Linked DNA regions of Homo sapiens: all the other regions are linked to region 3. The links are contacts of gene promoters, found by promoter capture Hi-C in human tissues and cell types (Jung and others, 2019). All regions are on one chromosome and are shown on one strand. Each heading gives the region's core, a stretch centred on a gene start or on the middle of the fragment in contact. The rest is flanking DNA. Distances are from core to core; before and after follow the strand shown. Region 1 overlaps KDM2A (lysine demethylase 2A). Region 2 overlaps SYT12 (synaptotagmin 12). Region 3 holds the start of SPTBN2 (spectrin beta, non-erythrocytic 2). Region 4 has its middle 14 kb from the start of C11orf86.

Region 1 (2,700 bases), core at 25-2,524, 460 kb after region 3:
CCTTCCAAGGTGCTGGGGATTATAGGCGTGAGCCATGGCACCGGGCCCTAAAACAGACCTTAAATCAAAGAATGGTTCCAAGAGGGGCCTGGTATGGTGCCTCACACCTAAAATCCCAGCACTTTGGGAGGCTGAGGCAGGACTGCTTGAAGCCAGGAATTCAGAGACCAGCCTGGGCAACATACCAAGACCTCATGTCTATAAAAAAAATAATAATAGTAATTTTAAAAGTTGGCTGGGCATGGTGTTGCATGCCTGTGCTCCTAGCCACTTGGAAGGCTTGAGCCCAGGAGTTTGAGGCTGTTCTGATCACACCACTGTAGTCCAGCCTGGGTGACAGAGCCAAGACCCTGTGTCTTGAAAGAAAGAGGCTGGGCGCAGTGACTCACGCTTGTAATCCCAGCACTTGCCTTGGGAGGCCGAGGCAGGCAGATCACAAGGTCAGGAGATCGAGACCATCCTGGCTAACACGGTGAAACCCCGTCTCTACTAAAAATACAAAATATTAGCCGGGTGTGGTGGCAGGCGCCTGTAGTCCCAGCGACTCGGGAGGCTGAGGCAGGAGAATGGCGTGAACCCGGGAGGTAGAGCTTGCACTGAGCTGAGATCGCGCCACTGCACTCCAGCCTGGGCGACAGAGCAAGACTCTGTCTCAAAAAAAAAAAAAAAGAAAGAAAAAATGGTTGGGCATGGTGCCTCACACGTCTGTAATCCCAACTTTGGGAGGCCAAGGCGGGAAGATTGCTTAAGCCCAGGAGTTTGAGACTACCCTGGGTAACGTGGTGAGACCTCGTCTCTACCAAAAAAATAAAAATAATCCAAGCATGGTGGCACATGCCTGTAGTCTAAGCTACTCAGGAAGCTGAGGTGGGAGTGTCACTTGAGCCTGGCAGGTCAAAGCTGCAGTGACCTGAGATTGTGCCACTTCACTCCAGCCTGGGTGACAGAGCAAGACACTGTCTCAAAAAAAAAAAAAAAAAAAATGTTTCAAGAGGCAAAGACATATATTAATTAAAGGTTTAACTATAGCAAGAAGATATAACAATTACAAACATTTATGTACCTAACGACAGACCATCAGTATACCCAAAGGAAAACCTGACAGAACTGAAGGGAGAAGTAGACATTTCTATACAGTAATACCTGGAGACTTCAGTACCCCCTCTCAATAATGGATAGAACAACCAGACAGAAAATAAGTAAGGAAATAGTGGACTTAACACAGTAAACCAACTAGATCTCACAGACACAGACAGAATCCTACCTAACAGCAATAGCATACACATTCTTTTCAAGTGTATGTAGGACATTTTCCAGGATACACCATATGTTAGGCTACAGATTAAATATCAGTGGATTTAAAAAATAGATATCAAAGTATCTTCTCCAACCACAATGGGATGAAGTTAAAAATCAATAACAGGTAAAACTGGAAAGGTCACAAAATTGTGGAATTTAACAATCAGTGAATCAAAGAAGAAATCACATGGAAATTAGAAAATACTTATAGATGAATGAACACAACACAGCCTACCAAAACTTATAGGGATCAGTGAAAGCAACATTAAAGGAGAAATTTGTAGCTATAAATGCTTTGATTATAAAACACGGAATCACTGATTGCAGTAGCATGTGCCTATAGTTCCAGCTACTTGGGAGACTGAGGCAGGAGGATTGCTTGAGCCCAGGATTTTGAGGCCAGCTTGGGCAACATAGCAAGACCTTATCTCGGCCGGGCGAGGTGGCTCACGCCTGTAATCCTAGCACTTTGGCAGGCTGAGGCCGGTGGATCACCTGAGGTCAGGAGTTCGAGACCAGCCTGGTCAACATGGCGAAACCCCATCTCTACTAAAAATACAAACATTAGCCAGGCATGATGGTGGACACCTGTAGTCCCAGCTACTCGGGAGGCTGAGGCAGGAGAATCACTTGAACCTGGGAAGCGGAGGTTGCAGTGAGCCAAGATCGCACATTGCACTCCAGCCGGGGCAACAAAGTGAGACTCTGTGTCAAAAAACAAACAAACACCAGTCTCTTTAACAAAAGAAGAGAAACTTAAAATCAACAACCTAACCTTACAACTTAAATAACTAGAAAAAGGACAAACTAAACCTAAAGCTAAAGGAAGTAATAAAGATTAGAGATAAATGAAATAAAGAATAGAAAAACAATAGAGAAAAGTCAAAGAAACCAAAAGGTGGTTCTTCTTTGAAAAGATAAACAAAATTGACAAAGCTTTATTTAGCCAGATGGACTAAGGAAAGAAAGATCGAATTACTAAAATCAGAAGTGAAAGTGAGGGCCGAGCGCGGTGGCTGACACCTATAATCCCAGCACTTTGGGAGGCCGAGGCGGGTGGATCACCTGAGGTGAGGAGTTCGAGACTAGCCTGGCCAATGTGATGAAACCCTGTCTCTACTAAAAATACATAAATTAGCTGGATGTGGTGGTACATGCCTGTAATCCCAGCTACTCAGGAGGCTGAGGCAGGAGAATGGCTTGAACCTAGGAAGCAGAGGTTGCAGCGAGCCAAGATTGCACCACTGCACTCCAGCCTGGGTGACAAGAGCAAACCTCCGACTCAAAAAAAGAAAGTGAAAGTGAGGACATTACTTCCAATTCTGTAGAAATAAAAAGGATTGTAAGAGAATACTATGCGTGGTGGCTCATTCCAGTAATCCTAGCACTTTGGGAAGCCAA
Region 2 (2,700 bases), core at 145-2,644, 310 kb after region 3:
GAACTCCATCTCCTCCGTGAGCAACACCTTTGGGCAGGACTTCACACTGGGCCAGGTGGAGGTGAGCATGGAGTACGACACTGCCTCCCACACGCTGAACGTGGCGGTGATGCAGGGCAAGGACCTCCTGGAGCGGGAGGAGGCCAGCTTCGAGTCCTGCTTCATGCGCGTCAGCCTGCTGCCGGACGAGCAGATCGTGGGCATTTCTCGGGTAAGTGGGGCTCAGGGCGGGGCAGAAGGGTGCTCTGGGCTCACTAGATGCCTCCCAGGCAGGCATGGCGGTGGGGCCCGGCAGGATCCCAGAAAGGCAGTAGAGTGCAAGTATGGATGCTGATCCCAGAGCTGAAGCTTCAGACTGTAGAGGGAGCTCTGTACAGAGCTGGGAGGTGGGGGGCTCCACCTGAAGGCTCCCATTGTGTGGAGTTCTTAGCGGTCCCACCAGGTGAATACAGAATGTGGCAACTGTCGTTGTCCACATCTGCCCTGTGTCAACATGGGGTCCCGGCAGAAAAGGGATGACATGCTTAAGAAGGCTAATTTGGGGAGGGCTTAATAACAGGACTGGGGCTGGTTGTGGTGGCTCATGCCTCTAATCTCAGCACTTTGGGAGGCCGAGGCGGGCAGATCATGAGGTCAGGAGATCGAGACCATCCTGCCTAACACGGTGAAACCCCATCTCTACTAAAATACAAAAAATTAGCCGGGCGTGGTGGCGGGCACCTGTAGTCCCAGCTACTCGGGAGGCTGAGGCAGGAGAATGGCGTGAACCTGGGAGGCAGAGCTTGCAGTGAGCCGAGATCGTGCCACTGCACTCCAGCCTGGGCGACAGAGGGAGACTCTGTCTCAAAATAAATAAATAAATAAAAATAAAACAGGACTGTCCAGGTACAGTGATTCATGCCTGTAATCCCAGCACTTTGGGAGGCCAAGGTGGGAGGATTGCTTGAGCCTAACCAGGAGTTCAAGGCCAGCCTAGGCAACATGGCAAAACTCCTTCTCTACCAAAAAAAATAAAATAAAATAAAATAAATTAGCTGGCTGTGGTAGTGCCAGCTAATTTATAGTCCCAGCTACTTGGGAGGCTGAGATGGGAGGATCACTTGAGCCCAGGAGGTTGAGGCTGCAATGAGCCACGATTGCACCACTGCACTCCAGCCTGGGTGACAGAATGAGACCCTATCTCAAAAAATAAAAATAGGGCCAGGTGCAGTGGCTCACACCTGTAATCCCAGCCCTTTGGAGGCTGAGGCAGGTGGATCACCTGAGGTCAGATGTTTGAGACCAGCCTGGCCAATATGGTGAAACCCCGTCTCTACTAAAAATACAAAAATTAGCAGGGCATGTGGTGCACACCTGTAATCCCAGCTATTGAGGTGGCTGAGGCAGGAGAATTGCATGAACTCAGGAGGCGGAGGTTGCAATGAGCCGAGATCATGCCACTGCACTCCAGCCTGGGCGACAGAGTGAGACTCCGTCTCAAAAATAATAAATAAATAAATAAATTTTAAAAATGAAAATAATAAGACCATTTAGAGTGGTGCGGATGGGGTGTGGGGCAGCCTCAGGGATGGCATGGTACCCTGGAAGGGCGTAACAGGAGGGGCTGTCCCACTCTAGATCTGAAGGGGTGAGGGGAAGGTGAGGTTACTGGGCCCAAAAGGATAGAGGGCCACCTTGTGTGGAGAGGGCTACCTTGGTGGAAGCTCTGCCCTTTGGCCAAGGGACATGGTCATCCCGCAACAATACTGCAGAGAGGGACTTCCCTCCCCCTCCAGTTTCCTTCTGGTGACCTCCACTGGCTGACCCAACCAGAAGCCAAAGGCCAAGGGAACCTGTTGACACAGCCCATGGAGGTCAACTCTCAGGGCCAGAGCAGAGGGGGGAAGGGTGGAGAATAAAGCGTGAGGGGCAGGGAAGGTGCCCAGTCCCTTAGGCTACCCTCCACACATCGCTGTAACTCACAGAACCAAGCCAACAGAGCCACATCTGGGCTGAAGGGTGGGGATAGCCTGTGAGCAGAGTGCGAGGAGGGCGTGTTTAGGGCATCAAGTTGGGGTGGCCCAGCTTCTGAGAGGCAGTATAGTGGGCGATTAGGAGCAGGACCCTGGAGCCTGACTGCCTGGGTTCAAATCCTTGTTCCACCTCTTCCTAGCAGTATGATCTTGGTTAAGTCAGTTTAGTACCCCATGACTCCGTTTCCCCATCTGTCAAATGGGCATCATGGTTATTGAGGAAGAGATGGGTTAATGTATGTGAAGTTCTTAGCCCAGCCTGGGTCAGTGCCTAGCAGGTTGGCTCTCAGGACCGTGCAGAGCTCCTGTCGTGCCCAGCCATGTTGCCTGTGGTTTGGGGACGCATTCCTTGAGGAGAGACATTGGCAGACAGCAGCCGCCACAGCCTGATGTGTGCTGAGAACCTGGTTCACAGAGCCCAGTGCATCCATGATTCTCTCATTAGCCCCTGACGCCAACAGGACAGATTGTTAGGGCATCTTACAGATGAGGAAACCGAGGCTCGGGAAAGTGCTTTGCCCAAGACAACGCCAGTAAGGAAGCAGGAGGTCCAGGACTCAAACCCAGGGTTCCATCCTCCTCCACCCATGTGCACATAAAGCACACGCTCAGAGAATGGCTGGTTGGGGAGCCCAGGCCCCCATGAGCAGGGGACAGCTGAGAGGCTAATTTAGCCGAAGGAGGGAGA
Region 3 (2,700 bases), core at 170-2,669:
ACCTGGCCCGGCGCCGGCCCGTCCGCCCCGCAGCCCCGGCGACGCGAGGGGCCGGCGCTGTCAGACCCGCTCCCAGCCTCGCCGCGAACGTGTCCGTCAGCCCTAACTGTTCCAGACTCTTCTCCCGGCTCCAGAGAGGCCCGAGTCCCCCCCCCTCGGCCTTGGCCCCCACCGCCCTCATCCCGGTACCTGTGTGGCTGGCACGGGACCCTCTCCGTCCCGTCCCCGCCTGCTCCCGCCCCGGCTCACCCCGGCCGCCGGGACCCGACCCCGACCCCGACCCCGACCCCGCCGACCGCACGCGGCCGGACAAAGCGCGCCGCCCCGCGGGCCGGGACAAAGCGGGCGGGGCGCCGGCACCTACCTCGGCGCGGAGCCGCGGCCGGGCGGGCGGGGGCGCGGCGGGCGGGGGCGCACCGGTAGTTGCCGCGCCTGCAGCCCGGCCGCGACGGGCGGTTGCAGGCAGCGGCCGGGCGCACGGCGGGCGGCGGGCGGGCGCTGTCACGGGGCGCAGGCGGCGCGGGGGGCGCGCGGGGCGGGCGGCGGCGGGGCGCGTGGCGGCGGCGCGCGGGCGCGAGCGGCGGGACTGCGGCGCCGCGGAAGGAGGACAATAGCCTCCCCCTGCCGCAGGCCGCCGGCTCCCGCGGGAGGCCCGGGACCATCTGGAGCCGGCGGCCCCGCGGGGCTCTGGGCGGGGCCCGAGTCGCCCCTTCCCCGCCCAGCGCCATGGCAACCGAGGCCCCTCTCGGTGCTCCCCGCCGCTCCCCGCCCGGGGTAGTTGACCTGCCTCGGGGCGAACGCGGCAGCAGCTCCGAGGCCGGCTGCCGACCCCCAGCCACCTTCCGTGCGGGGTCCCCCCAAAACCCCGCCTTCCCGTCCTCGCTGGTCCCTGGGTCCCCCACCACAGCTTACAGGTCTTGATCTCCCCGGTTCGGACACCTCACCTTTGTCCCTATTCTGCTTTTCCTCCAAAATCCGTATCCCCGAGACACGCGATCCTTCCTCTAATGACACTGCCGACGAGGTTTCCCGAGATCCAGCCTCCGTTCCCCTTTCCTCTCCGGGCACCTCCAGTCCGTCTCCGCTAAGCATTCCTCTCACCCGTCCCCTCGCTCTCGCGTCCTCCTTCAGGCAGCTGGGCCGGCTCTCCCTCCCAGAACATCTCCATGGCACAGTGAAGATTCGTCTTCTACAGATCAGATGCTCCAAACAGGCATCTCAGCGCTTCTCAGCTCCTCTCATTTATCAACCAGGAGAATTCCGGCCTAGTCACCGTCTTGAGGGGGGTGGGGGTGGGGGCAGACATTTCTAGGCCTGACACGGCTGGGTTTCTCCTTGGTTTGTTAGCGTCTGAGTGGTCTAAGGTCCAAGGTCCTTAACCAAGGTGAACTGCTGCCTGCTTAGGAGAGGAAGGAATTATGCCCAAATCATGACAAACTCACAGAGTGCCAGGTGGGTGCTAAAAGCGCATCATCTCATGTGACACTCCCACCCCCACTCCAGCTCTGAGAAGTAGGTGCTGTTCTTCCAGATTAGAGAACTCAGCTCAGAGATGAGCCAGTGGTAACAGGGTGAGCTTTGTACAGAGCCGTTAGGTTATGTACTGCCCCTGAAGATGAGGGCCCGTTTCTATCCAGGGAATGCCTGAAATGGTCAAGTAAGGGCACTCAAAGAATGGGCTTTGAGTGAATTATTGGATTTAAGGTTTTATAATAGATTTATGGGTAATTTAGGATTTTGCTCCTTTCTGAAAAGGTATGCATACTGAAACAAATATGTGCAATTGAAGTACTTTCCAGATATGGTTTTGACAACCCTAACTAGTGGTGTCATCTACCTCGCCTTGGTTTTCCTAGTCTATAAAATGGGTTGGGAGGAGGGTTGGGGAGTTCCATTGAAAGATTACTTTGAAGTTCTCTCCTAGCTCTGATATCTGTGCTTCTACCACGAAACTGGAACTGGCTCTCTGGTGTGTACCTCACAGTTAGCTGCATTTGAGGCTATTTATTATTATTATTATTTTGAGACGGAGTCGTGCTCTGTCACCCAGGCTGGAGTACAGTGGCTTGATCTCGGCTCACTGCAACCTCCTCTTCCCGGGTTCAAGCAATTTTCCTGCCTCAGCCTCCCGAGTAGCTGGGATTACAGGTGCATGCCACCATGCCCGACTAATTTTTGTATCTTTAGTAGAGTCAGAGTTTTGCCATGTTGGCCAGGCTGTTCTTGAACTCCTGACCTCAGGTGATCTGCCTGCCTCAGCCTCCCAAAGTGCTGGGATTACAGACGTGAGCTGCCGTGCCAGGCCTGAGGCTATTTATTATTTTTAATAGCCACTCTTTCAGGCAATGGCATTAAAGAAACAAGGGCATAAACTGCAACTCTTCCCAGAGGTAGGATTATGTGTTGGTTGGTTCGGGGGAAGGAGGCACCAACCTGTGCATGACGGTCATCAGGGACACTTGGTCAGGGACATTAAAGCTGATGGGATGAGAATCAGCTGCCCATGGCCAGGCGCAGTGGCTCACCCTTGTAATCCCAGCACTTTGGGAGGCCGAGGCAGGTGGATCGCGAGGTCAGGAGTTCAAGACCAGCCTGGCCAACATGGTGAAACCCCTTCTCTACTAAAAATACACAAATTAGCCAGGCGTGGTGGTGGGCATGAAATCCCAGCTACTCAGGAGGCTGAGGCAGGAGAATCGC
Region 4 (2,700 bases), core at 182-2,681, 260 kb after region 3:
GCCATGTCCAGGCACTTTTCTGATCAAAATTCAGAAATGGCTTCCCTGTTCATGCAGAGTAAATTCCACGGCCCATGACACTCTACCCTCTGGGTGCCTCCAAATTCATCAGGAGGCCTCTCCCTCGGCTCCACTCACCCTGGCCCCTTGTTGTTCCCGGAACCCAACACACATCCCACCTCAGGACCTTTGCACTTGCCCTTCCGTCTACCTGAAATACCTTCCCCGAAATGCCTGCCTCACTTCCTTGCCTCTCTGCTCATTAATTGCCTCATCACAGAGGCCTTCCTTGACCTCTACCAAAAACAGGTCTTGGCTGAGCGAGGTGGCTCATCCCTGTAATCCTGAGAGGTGACAGCGTGCTGGCAGTCCTCAGAGCCCTCGCTTGCTCTCGGCACCTCCTCTGCCTGGGCTCCCACTTTGGCGGCATTTGAGGAGCCCTTCAGCCCACCACTGCACTGTGGGAGCCCCTTTCTGGGCTGGCCAAGGCTGGAGCCCACTCCCTCAGCTTGCAGGGAGGTGTGGAGGGAGAGGCGCGAGCGGGAACGGGGCTCTTGCGGGCCAGCTGGAGTTCCGGGTGGGCGTGGGCTTGGCGGGCCCCCCACTCGGAGCAGCCGGCCAGCCCTGCTGGCCCCGAGCAATGAGGGACTTAGCACCCGGGCCAGCGGCTGCGGAGGGTGTACCGGGTCCCCCAGCAGTGCCAGCCCACCGGCACTGCGCTCGATTTCTCACGAGCCTTAGCTGCCTTCCCGCGGGGCAGGGCTCGGGACCTGCAGCCCGCCATGCCTGAGCCTGCCACCCCCTCCGTGGGCTCCTGTGCGGCCCAGCCTCCCCGACGAGCACCACCCCCTGCTCCAAGGCGCCCAGTCCCATCGACCACCCAAGGGCTGAGGAATGCGAGCGCACGGCGCGGGACTGGCAGGCAGCTCCACCTGCAGCCCCGGTGCGGGATCCACTAGGTGAAGCCAGCTGGGCTCCTGAGTCTGGTGGGGACGTGGAGAGTCTTTATGTCTAGCTCAGGGATTGTAAATACACCAATCAGCACCCTGTGTTTAGCTCAAGGTTTGTGAGTGCACCAATGGACACTCTGTATCTAACTGCTCTGGCGGGGCCTTGGAGAACCTTTACGTCTAGCTCAGGGATTGTAAATACACCAATCGGCACTCTGTATCTAACTCAAGGTTTGTAAACACACCAATCAGCACCCTGTGTTTAGCTCAAGGTTTGTGAATGCACCAATTGACACTCTATCTAGCTGATCTGGTGGAGCCTTGGAGAACCTATGTGTCGAAACTGTATCTAACTAATCTGATGGAGACGTGGAGAACCTTTGTATCTAGCTCAGGGATTGTAAAGGCACCAATCAGCGCCCTGTCAAAACAGACCACTGGGCTCTACCAATCAGCAGGATGTGGGTGGGGCCAGATAAGAGAATAAAAGCAGGCTGCGGGAGCCGGCTGTGGCAACCCACTAGGGTCGCCTGCTGCACTGTGGAAGCTTTGTTCTTTTGCTCTTTGCAATAAATCTTGCTACTGCTCACTCTTTGGGTCCACACTGCTTTTATAAGCTGTAACACTCACCGCGAAGGTCTACAGCTTCACTCCTGAAGCCAGCGAGACCATGAGCCCACCGGGAGGAACGAACAACTCCAGGCGGCACTGCCTTAGGAGCTCATCGCGAAGGTCTGTAGCTTCACTCCTGAGCCAGCGAGACCACGAACTCACCAGAAGGAAGAAACTCCGAACACATCTGAACATCAGAAGGAACAAACTCCAGAAGCACCACCTTAAGAGCTGTAACACTCACTGCGAGGGTCCGCGGCTTCATTCTTGAAGTCAGTGAGACCAAGAACCCACCAATTCCAGATGCAATCCCAGCACTCTTGGAGTCTGAGGTGGATGGAACACTTGAGGCCAGGAGTTCGAGACCAGCCTGCACAACATGGCAAAACCCCATCTCTACTAAAAATACAAAAATTAGCCTGGCATGGTGGCACACTCCTGTAATCCTAGCTACTCGGGAGGCTGAGGCAGGAGAATTGCTTGAACCCGGGAGGTGGGGTTGCAGTCAGCCAAGATTGTGCCACTGCACTCCAGCCTCCAACAACTCAGTCTCCAACAACAACAACAACAAACCCAGCTCTCCCCAACCCATCCTTTCTCTCTGTTCCTTACCTGTTTATTCTGGCTGACATTTACTTATCGTCTCCCCCACCAGAATGTCAGCTCCATGAGACAGGAATTTGATATGTTTTGTGTCCTGCTGTATTCCCAATACCTGGTGCTTAATAGATGCTCATTTAATAGCTGTTAACTGAGGCCGGGCATGGTGGCTCAGACCTATAATCCCAGCATTTTGAGAGGCTGAGGTGGGCGGATCACCTGAGGTCGGGAGTTTGAGAACAGTCTGACCAACATGGAGAAACCCCGTCTCTACTAAAAATATAAAAATTAGCCAGTTGTGGTGGTGCATGCCTGTAATCTCAGGTACTTGGGAGGCTGAGGCAAGAGAATCGCTTGAACCTGGGAAGTGGAGGTTGCAGTGAGCCGAGATCATGCCATTGCACTCCAGCCTGGGCAACAGAGTGAGACTCCACCTCAAAAAAAAAAAAAAAGTTGTTAACTGACTTGAATGAATGAATGACTTATTGAATGAGGTTTCAGCATCCAAAAGAGTTTAGGAAACTTCATGGAAGGAGGC

Evidence for each region. The method cuts DNA at HindIII sites, captures the fragments that hold promoters and counts their contacts. A contact is called where the count stands out against the background at its distance.
Region 1: a contact is called between a fragment that was not itself captured here and the fragment with the promoter of SPTBN2 in region 3, in 1 of the 25 tissues and cell types used here (adrenal gland).
Region 2: a contact is called between a fragment that was not itself captured here and the fragment with the promoter of SPTBN2 in region 3, in 1 of the 25 tissues and cell types used here (thymus).
Region 4: a contact is called between a fragment that was not itself captured here and the fragment with the promoter of SPTBN2 in region 3, in 1 of the 25 tissues and cell types used here (pancreas).

What each region holds. Positions count from the first base shown.
Region 1 is chr11:67,187,828-67,190,527 of GRCh38, forward strand. The region is part of intron 5 of KDM2A (lysine demethylase 2A); the gene reads left to right. Among named protein-coding and RNA genes, the nearest start is that of KDM2A, 70 kb to the left of the region's middle. The HindIII fragment of the contact is 3,563 bases long and covers 1-2,700 here.
Region 2 is chr11:67,039,993-67,042,692 of GRCh38, forward strand. It overlaps SYT12 (synaptotagmin 12), which reads left to right. Exons shown (of 8, transcript NM_177963.4): 4 at 1-211. Among named protein-coding and RNA genes, the nearest start is that of MIR6860, 4.3 kb to the right of the region's middle. The HindIII fragment of the contact is 3,922 bases long and covers 1-2,700 here.
Region 3 is chr11:66,727,797-66,730,496 of GRCh38, forward strand. SPTBN2 (spectrin beta, non-erythrocytic 2) reads right to left here and starts at 1,420. Exons shown (of 38, transcript NM_006946.4): 1 at 945-1,420. The HindIII fragment of the contact is 42,487 bases long and covers 1-2,700 here.
Region 4 is chr11:66,988,278-66,990,977 of GRCh38, forward strand. No RefSeq gene overlaps it. Among named protein-coding and RNA genes, the nearest start is that of C11orf86, 14 kb to the left of the region's middle. The HindIII fragment of the contact is 4,619 bases long and covers 1-2,700 here.